Linked DNA regions of Homo sapiens: all the other regions are linked to region 3. The links are contacts of gene promoters, found by promoter capture Hi-C in blood cells and fetal thymus (Javierre and others, 2016). All regions are on one chromosome and are shown on one strand. Each heading gives the region's core, a stretch centred on a gene start or on the middle of the fragment in contact. The rest is flanking DNA. Distances are from core to core; before and after follow the strand shown. Region 1 overlaps LRIG2 (leucine rich repeats and immunoglobulin like domains 2). Region 2 overlaps LRIG2 (leucine rich repeats and immunoglobulin like domains 2). Region 3 holds the start of NRAS (NRAS proto-oncogene, GTPase).

What was found. The method cuts DNA at HindIII sites, captures the fragments that hold promoters and counts their contacts. A CHiCAGO score of 5 or more calls a contact.
Region 1: a contact is called between a fragment that was not itself captured here and the fragment with the promoter of NRAS in region 3, in 4 of 17 cell types (M2 macrophages, total CD8 T cells, activated CD4 T cells and 1 more). The highest score is 7.6, in M2 macrophages.
Region 2: a fragment that was not itself captured here is called in contact with the fragment with the promoter of NRAS in region 3 in 4 of 17 cell types (M2 macrophages, monocytes, M1 macrophages and 1 more); the score reaches 9.2 in M2 macrophages.

Annotation. Positions count from the first base shown.
Region 1 is chr1:113,094,293-113,098,126 of GRCh38, forward strand. It overlaps LRIG2 (leucine rich repeats and immunoglobulin like domains 2), which reads left to right. Exons shown (of 18, transcript NM_014813.3): 5 at 47-190; 6 at 320-463; 7 at 1,582-1,725; 8 at 1,930-2,073. Among named protein-coding and RNA genes, the nearest start is that of LRIG2, 23 kb to the left of the region's middle. The HindIII fragment of the contact is 3,284 bases long and covers 1-3,020 here.
Region 2 is chr1:113,111,659-113,115,708 of GRCh38, forward strand. LRIG2 (leucine rich repeats and immunoglobulin like domains 2) reads left to right here. Exons shown (of 18, transcript NM_014813.3): 14 at 821-1,102; 15 at 2,769-3,218. Among named protein-coding and RNA genes, the nearest start is that of LRIG2, 40 kb to the left of the region's middle. The HindIII fragment of the contact is 4,473 bases long and covers 1-4,050 here.
Region 3 is chr1:114,714,362-114,718,020 of GRCh38, forward strand. NRAS (NRAS proto-oncogene, GTPase) reads right to left here and starts at 2,410. Exons shown (of 7, transcript NM_002524.5): 1 at 2,297-2,410; 2 at 1,689-1,816. The coding sequence starts at 1,799. It overlaps CSDE1 (cold shock domain containing E1), which reads right to left. Exons shown (of 20, transcript NM_001007553.3): 20 at 2,555-3,659. RefSeq lists enhancers at 2,106-2,205, 2,216-2,415. The HindIII fragment of the contact is 3,751 bases long and covers 1,872-3,659 here.

The DNA.
Region 1 (3,834 bases), core at 129-2,628, 1.6 Mb before region 3:
TTATTTTACTAAATTTTTTCTTTTGCTATTATCTTGTTTATTTTAGGAATTTAAGTAATAACAGAATAACCACCTTGGAGGCTGGTTGCTTCGATAATTTATCAAGTTCCTTATTAGTGGTAAAGTTAAACCGTAACCGAATGAGCATGATTCCACCTAAGATCTTCAAGCTGCCTCACCTCCAATTCTTGTGAGTAACGAAATAGACGGATTATAAGAAGATAGTTTTTTCTTACAGGGTCTTTTTCTTTTTAATTTAATTACTGTTAGAACATTTTAGCAAACCAATTTCCTGACTGTAAAACTATTTTTGTTAAAGGGAACTTAAAAGAAACAGAATTAAAATTGTGGAAGGTCTTACATTCCAAGGGCTTGACTCCTTAAGATCTTTGAAAATGCAGCGGAATGGAATTAGCAAACTTAAGGATGGAGCATTTTTTGGCTTGAATAACATGGAAGAACTGTAAGTACTCGGGACTAGAGGTGATTATTAGGAAAGTAGTCTGTTTGGGACTTTTCAGTGTCGAATGGCTAGGGTAGTTGTTCTGATTATAGAGATACATTCATTCATTCCCTGGTCACTGATGTGAAGTAAGCGTACATAAAACCTTTAAAGTTTTGTTAGCTAACTGATCAATTTTGAAATAATTCTTACAAACTTCTCATCTAAAAAGTTTATATATATATATATATTTTTTTTGAGATGGAGTCTCACTCTGTTGCCCAGGCTGGAGTGCAATGGCGTGATCTCAGCTCCTGCAACCTCTGCCTCCAGGTTCAAGTGACTCTCCTGTCTCAGCCTTCTGAGTAGCTGGGATTACAGGCGTGTGCCACCAGGCCCGGCTGATTTTTGTATTTTTAGTAGAGATGGGGTTTCACCATGTTGGTCAGGCTGATCTCGAACTCCTGACCTCATGATCCACCCACCTTGGCCTCCCAAAGTGCTGTGATTACAGGCATGAGCCACCGTGCCCGGCCAAAAAGTTTATATTCTTAATGTTTTGGCTAATGAAAATTACCAGAATTTATCCAAACAGGTATACTATACCACTTGGCCTGTTGGTTTTGTAGAGCTCCTATTTTAGACAGTCTTACTACCTTCTAGCACTAAATCTCTTTTTTTGTTGTCGTTGTTGAGATAGAGTCTTGCTCTGTTGCCAGGCTGGAGTGCAGTGGCACAGTCTCGGCTCACTGCAACCTCTGCCTCATGGGTTCAAGCGATTCTCCTGCCTCAGCCTCCCGAGTAGCTGGGACTACAGGCGCGCGCCACCGTGCCCAGTTAATTTTTGTATTTTTAGTAGAGATGGGGTTTTACCATGTTGGTCAGGGTGGTCTTGATCTTTTGACCTTGTGATCCGCCCACCTCGGCCTCCCAAAGTGCTGGGATTACAGGCATGAGCCACTGTGCCCGGCCAAGCACTAAATCTTAAATAAGATATTCATTTTTATTGAATAGAATTGGTCAGCTCAGTTGGGTTGAACAAAGGTATATGCTTCTCTGGGAAAAACTTAAGATTTAAAGCTAGTTATTGAACTGCCTTGTTTTGGAACGTATTTTCTTCTCTTTCTCTAATTCTGCAGAGAACTGGAACACAACAACCTTACACGAGTAAACAAGGGGTGGTTGTATGGCTTGCGAATGTTACAGCAGCTCTATGTGAGCCAGAATGCTATTGAAAGAATCAGCCCTGATGCATGGGAGTTCTGCCAAAGACTATCCGAACTGTAAGTGTTGGATAGCATTTCACTGGAGGCAGTTAAGACTAGAGCAGATTGGAATAAATCATTCCCATGGGCAGTAATGAGATGTAACATCCCTCTTTACTAGAAATTTGTAGAAAGCTCTAAATTTACCATGTAGATATAATAAGAATTGTAAGTTGAACCAAATACAATGAATTCCTTACCTTCCACATTTCTTGTTTTCAGTGATTTGTCCTATAACCAGCTGACCCGCCTGGATGAATCTGCCTTTGTGGGTCTGAGCTTATTGGAGAGATTGAATTTAGGAGACAACAGAGTCACTCATATTGCTGATGGTGTATTTAGATTTCTTTCCAATCTTCAGACATTGTAAGTATATCCATTCTCCTTTTTGGTTGTTGTTACTGATTTTTTTAGTACAATAAAGCAAATTAATTAAAACAACTAATCAGTCTGCAAATTCTGTATGCTAACATTTTGTGGTTCTTCTGTCCTATGCCTCAGAGCAAGGCAGTCTTATTTGTCTCCATCCCCATAAAAATCCCAAGCCTGTCGTAGGCAATTCAGTTTGTAGTTTAATTCTGAGTTAATCCCATAAGCATCAAAGCATGTCTTATTGTGTTAGTTGCTGTGGAATAAAACACAGTTGCTAGTGTCAGGAGAGCAGTCATTTTCTTGTTCCTTTGACTTTGACAATACACCAGAGCTACTAGTTCTCATTCGAAAGGATGCAGGTTGTGTAGTGGGAACTGCCGTGGTAGGAGACCAGTTCACTGTTACTGGTTTGCTACATGACTTTGGACAGAAGAAACTAATACTTATTATCTGATATGTGCCAGGTACTTTCAAATACTAGGATGATACTGCTGTTTTCCATATTAGGAGGCTGAGGTTCAGAGAAATTTAAATAATTTTCTCTAAGTCACATAGCTTGTAAATGTTGGGCCAGAATCAGATCCCAGGTCTGTTTGATGCTAAAGCTCATGTCCATTTTATCATACCAACAGAAGAACAAAATCACTTAGCTTTTCCTGGCCATCATTTTTTTTTCTCCTTTATACGGTGAAGGAAGGATATAGGATTAGATGGTTGCTAAAGGCAGTTTCCACGCTAAAATTCTGTGGTTCTGTAAGTTATTCAATTTACAGAATATAAGAATGTGTTTTTGTGAACTTTATATATTTATATATAAATATATCTAATTTTAGAATATAATTTTATTAAATGAAGAGGTATTTTAATGAAATATAGTAATCTCAAACACAGAGCAGAATAAAAGAAAACAAAGAGTAATTAGTAGAATTTGTAGATTCTTAAGCTTCCTGAATAGAGGACTTTGTGGTCATTAGGTTTCGAGTTGAAATGGTTCAGAGAAGAGGCAGGTTCCCAACTTGGAGACATAACCATCAATGAGAGGGAAAACAAGATAATTTTGTGAAGGGTATATACATGCACAGGTGTGTATTTGATTTTTTAAAAAATTCCTTTAGATTTGGCCTTGAAAAATTAAAAGTGATTGTATTTTTCCTTTTCCTATATTATCAGAAGTGAAACTGGATCAATGCAATCTCAGAAACTTAGATGTAGCTGCAGCCTTTTGGCAGTTGAAGGGATGGCAAATAGGTTATTTTAGTATACCACTGATTATTACTTTTAGAATTAAAGTTTTGGGAAGTAATAGCAGAAGTAAATGGTTGTGTAGTGCCACAGAGATAGTTAAGACAGAGTTAGGATCAAATCTGGGGAATTCTGGCTTTAGCCTCATGCTCTTGCCAGGGTAGATACAGTTCTTAATTTGTTGAATGGTTTCTATTTATGCTGTGCTGTGGAGGAGGGGGAAAATCCTGAAGAGTTGAGCCATTGGTTCTTTCATTATTTATTCCTTAGTAAAATAAAATGAGCTTTATTAGCTTTTCACTTAAAGAAAGCTAAGTGAAAACAGGGATCTCCTCTTTACTGCTAATCACACAACTCTACATGTCCCTTATAAAGTAGAAAGCTTTGTGCTTTATTATGAGATGACTTAAGGAAGCAAAAGCGATTAAATATTTTTAATTATATGGAAATAATTCTTTTATCATAACATGATGTGGTACAATTGCATTTCCTCTGAGAATGGAACAGTGAATT
Region 2 (4,050 bases), core at 962-3,461, 1.6 Mb before region 3:
TCTATTGCCTATTAAATTGAATAACTACAACATTTTAGGGTTTGTACAACCAAAAGATGTACTTATGTTTTGCTTCTGTGTTTTTTAATGATACTTTTGAAGGCATAAGTTTTTTTAGCATGCAGTTTCCTTGATAGCTTTGTAGATGTTGGTTTGGGAACATTTTTGAGATGGACTCTCACTCTGTCATGCAGGCTGGAGTGCAGTGGTGTGATCTCAGCTCACTGCAGCCTTCGCCTCCTAGTTTCAAGTGATTCTCCTGCCTCAGCCTCCCAGGGAAGCATCATTTAGCTTCATAAGTGAGAGAGTCATAGTAAATACCAGGTTCTAAAATACGAAGTTCAAAGAAGGTTTGTGGCCTTCTGCTTTCCCTAGTTCCAGCTGATGATTAAGTGTATCATGCATCCTAGAAGACACAGTCATCAGTGTGCTCCAAATACTCTGAGGTTCTGGAAGAAAAGATGTTCTCAAAACCATATTCACTCTTGGCTGGGTGCTGTGGCTCAGGCTTGTAGTCCCAGCACTTTGGGAGGCCAAGGTGGGAGGATAGCTTGAGGCCTGGAATTTGAAGCTGCAGTGAGCTATGATTGCGCCAGTGTACTCCCGCCTGGACAGCAGAGCAAGACCCTATCTCTAAAGTTTGTTTTTGTTTTTTTAAATTTATAAAACTATATTCACTCTCAATCAGAGAGCCTGTCTTCACAAAGAAATGGAACATTAGGGGGTGTCTTGCCTACTAGATTCTTTCATGCCTATTTGTATGCATATATGTGTCTTTGTTCCCTTGCCCACTTTTTCTTGGTGATTTTTCTGGAAACAGAGATGCCATCTTTTCTGAAAACGCCAATGGATCTGACTATTCGCACTGGTGCCATGGCCAGATTAGAATGTGCTGCAGAGGGACACCCTGCACCTCAGATTTCCTGGCAGAAAGATGGTGGTACTGACTTTCCTGCGGCTCGAGAAAGACGCATGCACGTCATGCCCGAGGATGACGTCTTCTTTATTGCCAATGTGAAAATAGAAGATATGGGAATCTATAGCTGCATGGCACAAAATACAGCAGGAGGTCTCTCAGCAAATGCTTCCCTAACAGTGTTAGGTACGTTTACTGCTCCATGGGTCCCTGCTTTTGTTGGAGTCTTTGGGAGCTACTCTTGGTCTTAATGAGCAAGAAAAATAAGTTTGAGATTACCTCTGTGATTCTTAGATCTTTATCTTATTTCACAATTTTATGCAAGGTTATGTCAGTCTAGGAATTAGTGGGTCAGATAACTGAAATGTGGGAAAATACATAGGGCAAAATTAGGTAGGCATCCTTGTCACAATAATTGAAAGTTCAAATTCCTTTATCAGCTTATCTTTTTAAGTCCCTCTCTGTAAGGTTTCTGTTTCATGTAGGTGTGTTTACTATTCACTGAGTTTGCATTGAGAGTTCCACTGTTCTTTTAGGAGTATCCCAGCCATTTGATGCTGCTTCACTTATTGCTTGATAGGAACCTAAGACTATTTAACTGTTTGCTCCTAGTTCATTTTCAAAAAAAATTTAATACAAAAAAAAAAAAAAAAGATGTGTTTTCTGGTTAGAGTTTCTGCTTTCCTTTTCAGTGTGTTCTTCTTAACCCTATTTCTGGTAAAATGCCTTTTTTCCTAAAAATTTTCCCCTGCTGGCCTGGGTTTTTTTTGTTGTTGTTGTTTGTTTGTTTTGTTTTTTCTTCCTTATTACAATACTTTTCTTCGTGGAACTCAAATCCAGGGTAAATTCTACTTTCCAGTTCTCTATTTTCCTATATGTCAGTTATTATTATTATTTTTTTTAAGTTTGTTGGTTTGTATTGTTTACTTGTATAACCAGAAAAATAAGAAGTCATTTATTTATTTATTTATTTATTTATTTATTTATTTATTTATTTATTTATTTTGAGACGGAGTCTCATTCTGTTGCCCAGGCTGGAATGCAGTGGCGCAATCTCGGCTCAGAGCAACCTCCACTTCCCGGGTTCAAGTGATTCTCCTGCCTCAGCCTCCTGAGTAGCTGGTACTACAGGCATGTACCACTGCGCCCAGCTAATTTTTGTATTTTTTTTAGAGACGGGGTTTCACCATGTTGGTCAGGCTGGTCTCGAACTCCTGACCTCATGATCCGCCTGCCTCAGCCTTAGAAAAATAAGTCATTTATTGTTTTAACATGTTAAGATATACAGAAAATTAGGAAAAGGGGAGGAAAGTCACTCAAATACTTAAGGATTTTAGCATATTCTAGACTTTCCCCTCTCACTTTTATGTAGTCAAATATACCTACATTTTTTTCATTTAATATTGTACCACAAGTTGCCTTGTTATTAAAGTCTTTGTAAAAGATCATGTGACTATAATTTACTTAATCATTTTTCTGCTAGATTTAAAAATGTTTTTCTTTATTCTTTAAAGTTACACATTTTGTAGTAAACATCTTTGCGTATAAATCTTTGAATTTCTTTTTTTTTAAGTTATTTTTAATCTTTTTTAATGGGTCACCGCTGCTCACCCCCTCCAGCTATTGCAGCTGCCCTGAACTTCTTTCTTAGGATAGCTTGCCTAAGCTGGAATTATCGAGAAAAGATTGAGGCTTTTTTCAGGATTTTGTTCTGAAACATTAACTTCTAATCCTCCCATGAGTATATAAAATTACTCATTTTATTATACCCCCATTGGTCTAATTCAGTAGAAATTAGGGAATAAAATTGCCTAACTTTTCATTTTTTTTTTTTTTAATGTTTTCCTGTTAGAGACACCCTCATTTATTAGACCCCTGGAGGATAAGACAGTAACACGAGGTGAAACTGCGGTGTTACAGTGCATAGCTGGAGGGAGTCCTGCCCCTCGTCTCAACTGGACTAAAGATGATGGGCCTTTGCTGGTGACAGAACGACATTTCTTTGCTGCAGCCAATCAGCTTCTCATCATTGTAGATGCCGGGCTAGAAGATGCTGGGAAATATACCTGCATTATGTCTAACACCCTTGGGACAGAACGTGGCCACATTTACCTAAATGTCATTTCATCCCCCAATTGTGACTCTTCCCAGAGTAGCATTGGGCATGAAGATGATGGCTGGACCACAGTTGGCATTGTCATCATTGTTGTGGTCTGCTGTGTTGTTGGCACTTCTTTGATCTGGGTCATTGTTATTTACCACATGAGAAGGAAAAATGAAGACTATAGTATCACAAACACAGGTAAGTAGTACCCACATGACACCTATGGCTTGTACTTCAGTCAAGAATGTAGTATAGGATTAATTGTACAATATAAAAAACTGAGAGCTGGTCATAGTAGCACATGCCTGTACTCCCAGCTACTCAGGAGGATGAGGTGGGAGGACTGCTTGAGCCCAGGAGTTCAAGGCCCACCTGGGCAACATAGCAAGACCTCATCTTCCCCCTCAAAAAACTGAAGAGCTGTGATACATTACCTGATATGTGATAGAAGGGAGTTTTTGTTGTTAAAATGTTCAACTTCTTTGATATAACAGAACCTCTTTGAGGAATAGGTTCATAACAGAACCTCTTTGAGGAAAGAATTTTGTTTATTTGAGATAGGGTGTTACTGTAATGCCCAGGTCAGAGTGTATCGGTACATTCATGGCTCACTGCAGCGTTGACTTCCCAGGCTCAGGTGATTCTCCCATCTCGGCCTTCTGAGAAGCGGGGACTATAGGCATGTGCCACCGCGCCTAAGTTTTTATATTTTTAGTAGAGTCGGGTTTTGCCATGTTGCCCAAGCTGGTCTCAAACTCCTGGGCTCTAGCAATTTGTCCACCTTGGCCTCTCAAAGTGCTGGGATTACAGGCATGAGCCACTGCGTCTGACCAATTTTAAGAATTTGTAAATTTTTTTTTTTTTTTTTGAGATAGAGTCTCGCTCTGTTGCCAGGCTGGAGTGCAGCGGCATGATCTTGGCTCAATGCAACTTCCACTTCCCGGGTTCAAGCGATTCTCCTGACTCAGCCTCCCGAGTAGCTGGGACTACAGGCGTGTGCCACCATGCCCAGCTAATTTTTGTATTTTTA
Region 3 (3,659 bases), core at 1,160-3,659:
AAGAAATCTAAACATACCTCCACCAATTATAACCTGGCCCTATATACATCATTTGTGTTTATGACTAAATATACAAATACCTTTGTTTCAGAGAAGGTTTTTTTTTTATCATGACAGATGTACCTTTGGGAAATATTCCTGAATCAAATTCTTAAAGGTTCCAAACAAGGTATAGTTATGTTTAATTTCTCAGGAAGACAAACATGCATAGATCATATAAAAAATACTTTCATTTTGGTTTTATGGCAACAGGACTTTTACTTGTATTTTAATGTCATCACACTTGGAGAACTCTCTGGAGTACTGGAAGTGCTCTATACTGTTATCTGGGTGGTAGCTACATGACTATATAGAAACGCAAAAAGCACTGGGCTGTAGACATAAAATTTATGTATTTTACTTATGTAAATTGCTCAATAAATCAAACATTTAAAAATATTTAATTAAAATATTAAACATTTCATGTAAAATATTAAAGCTGTTAAGCTCAAAATAAAGATTTTGCCAAGGGTTAGCAACCAATTTTTTATAGTGGCTACATTAGAGTTAGTTTTCATCAATTAAACACGAGTAGCCAGATGGTAGGGAGGCCAGGTGTTGATTAAAATAATCTCTAAAGTTAGGCATTTCTAAACTGAACAAAATTACAAAACCCTTTATTTATTTATCTATTTATTTATTTTTTGAGACGAAGTCTCGCTCTGTTGCCCAGGCTGGAGGTCTGTGGTGTGATCTCGGCTCACTGCACCCTCTGCCTCTGGTTCAAGCGATTCTCCTGCCTCAGCCTCCTGAGTAGCTGGGATTACAGGTGCCTGCCACCACACCCAGCTAATTTTTGTATTTTTAGTAGAGACGGGGTTTCACCATGTTGATCAGGCTGGTCTTGAACTCCTGACCTTGTGATCCGCCTGCCTCAGCCTCCCAAAGTGCTGGGATTACAGGCGTGAGCCACCGTGTCCGGCAAAACCCTTTATTTAAAGAGCCTTAGGTGCCACTTACTGAAGACAATCTGTACCATGAACTCTCATAATAACAATAGAATCCCTAAGTACTATTACATAGTGCTTTACCATTCATAAATAACTTAAATATATTATTTAACTTTCCATAACATCCCTGTGTGGTAGGCAGGACAAGTTTATGGTAATTTAAAACATGAGGAAAATGAGGTTGGGAGAGATTCAGTTGCTCAATATCACACAACTAAATAAACTGCAAACAGGGACCAAAATCCTAGGCATAAAGACTAAAAATCTCAAGTTCTTGCTACTCCAATCATCTGGTCTCAGCTGCTTCAACTAGCTAATAAATAAATATTGAAGAACACTCATCTCTGAATCCTTTATCTCCATCCTATTATCTCCCATACAATCAGACAGTCTCGCTACTATGGCCTGTGTTTCTCATGTAATAGAGCTGTTATATATGAAGAAACTCATGAATGAACTCAACACTGAGTTTGCAATAGTTTACAGAACTGTTAAAAACTGGACAGGTTTTAGAAACTTCAGCAGCTAATAAAAATGAACTGTTCTCTATAAACACGTTAAGCTTATTGCATAACTGAATGTATACCCAAAATAACTTTTTACTTTCTCTCCTCTTATTCCTTTAATACAGAATATGGGTAAAGATGATCCGACAAGTGAGAGACAGGATCAGGTCAGCGGGCTACCACTGGGCCTCACCTCTATGGTGGGATCATATTCATCTACAAAGTGGTTCTGGATTAGCTGGATTGTCAGTGCGCTTTTCCCAACACCACCTGCTCCAACCACCACCAGTTTGTACTCAGTCATTTCACACCAGCAAGAACCTGTTGGAAACCAGTAATCAGGGTTAATTGGCGAGCCACATCTACAGTACTTTAAAGCTTTCTATAATCAATGGAAATGAAAACCCTAGTGTGACCTTCCATTTGGTTCTTAAAGTGACTAGAGAACGCAAAAACACCGGATTAATATCGGCCTCACACTTCTGGAGTAGTTTTCTAGCAACCCCCATCCTTAGCTATTTTTCAACAGTCCTTGGGCCCCGCCCTCAGCCTAAGCAATGGAAATCCCCCTTCCTATTACTCCCCGAAGGCTTCTCAGCTCTAGCAGGAAGCCTCCAGGCCGCAACTCCTTCCCATTCTCCCTTCTGTCTCCAAAGATCTCCCCACGTAGGCACCAAATGGAAGGACCCCCGCCCAAGGCCTTTGTCTCCAGCTGATAGATTCTGCTCCATTTCTGGCATCAGTGAAACGCCTGAACATTCCACAGCCCAAAGCCGAACACTATGCATGAGATAAACTTACCTCAAGCTCCACTGCCTCTGCTTTGGACAGATTTAGGACCACAGCCGGGAAAAATGTTGGAGACCCCGGAACCGCCATGAACAGCCCCCACCAAGGAGCGGCACTTCCGGCCCCGCCCGCTACGTAATCAGTCGGCGCCCCAGGCGCCTGAGTCCCCGCCCCGGCCACGTGGGCCTCCGAACCACGAGTCATGCGGCAGGCCGCACCCAGACCCGCCCCTCCCACACGGGACGTTTCAATAATGAAAGCGCTAGGTGCTAGTGTCTCAAAAATCAGTAAAACTTTATTCGCTTCCATTCTTTCGCCATTAACAGAAAACTGGAGAAAGCAAAAATGTTTCGTGTTTACAAAGATAAACGGCCTCTTTACCCAGAGATCAAAACCTCAAACGACAAGGGGGAAGATAAAACCGCCCTCCCCCACATCCCCTGAGCTGACCCTTGTCATCTTAGACAAAGCCTTCAGTCCACTGGCCAGGGACCCTGTATATGGCCAATTCAAGAAGAGGGCCAAGAAATCAGACCCATCCATTCCCGTGATATAAAGTTGAACAGAAGCTACACCAAGGGTCAAGTGTCTGTATTTTACAGGACACAGTAACCAGGCGGCTACTTATAAAAAAAAACAAGATTCATTTCAGGCACAACTTTTTTATTTTTTTTTGTTTTGTTTTTAAATCAGTAAAAGAAACCGGGTCCTAGAAGCTGCAGTGATCTAAGCAGCAGCAAGTTTGTGCATTCATTTTTTTTGTTTTTGTTTAAATATGTTTAAATTATCACACTGCTGGCACTCCTCATTTGCATGAAATTCTGCACCATACTTACTAATTGTAGTAAAGTTACCCCCCAACCCACGAAAAAAAACCTACTCTGGAAGAAAATTTTCACTGAAATATAACCAAACTTCTTTAAGTGGATTGTGACAAGATTATAAATGATATGAAAAATAACATTTTAAAATTTGGCCATCAACTTTAAGAAATGGTTTGCCTATACAAATTTTTGTAATTTTTAAAAGATAATATATTCTACCCTCATATGGTCCTCAGAATTAAAGCATAATGAACAGGAAGAAAAAGGAAAAGAATGCAACTGAGTGCTAAGGCAGAACATCTTGCCAGAAGTAATTAATGAAGGTAGAGTATATAATGAAAAGTGCAGAATTTCATAGGGCCAACAAGATAACAGTCTATATTTTTCACTTACACAGGCAAAGTGGATTCTGCAATTACCAGTTGCGTTAAATGCACCAAATAAAGCTCCTAAAATTGATACTATAAGGCGCCACCTTAAGTTTTTCCAGGCTGCAACTGTGCATTATTTAAAATGGTTTTCTTAAATTTATTTATTTTTTTAAACATAAC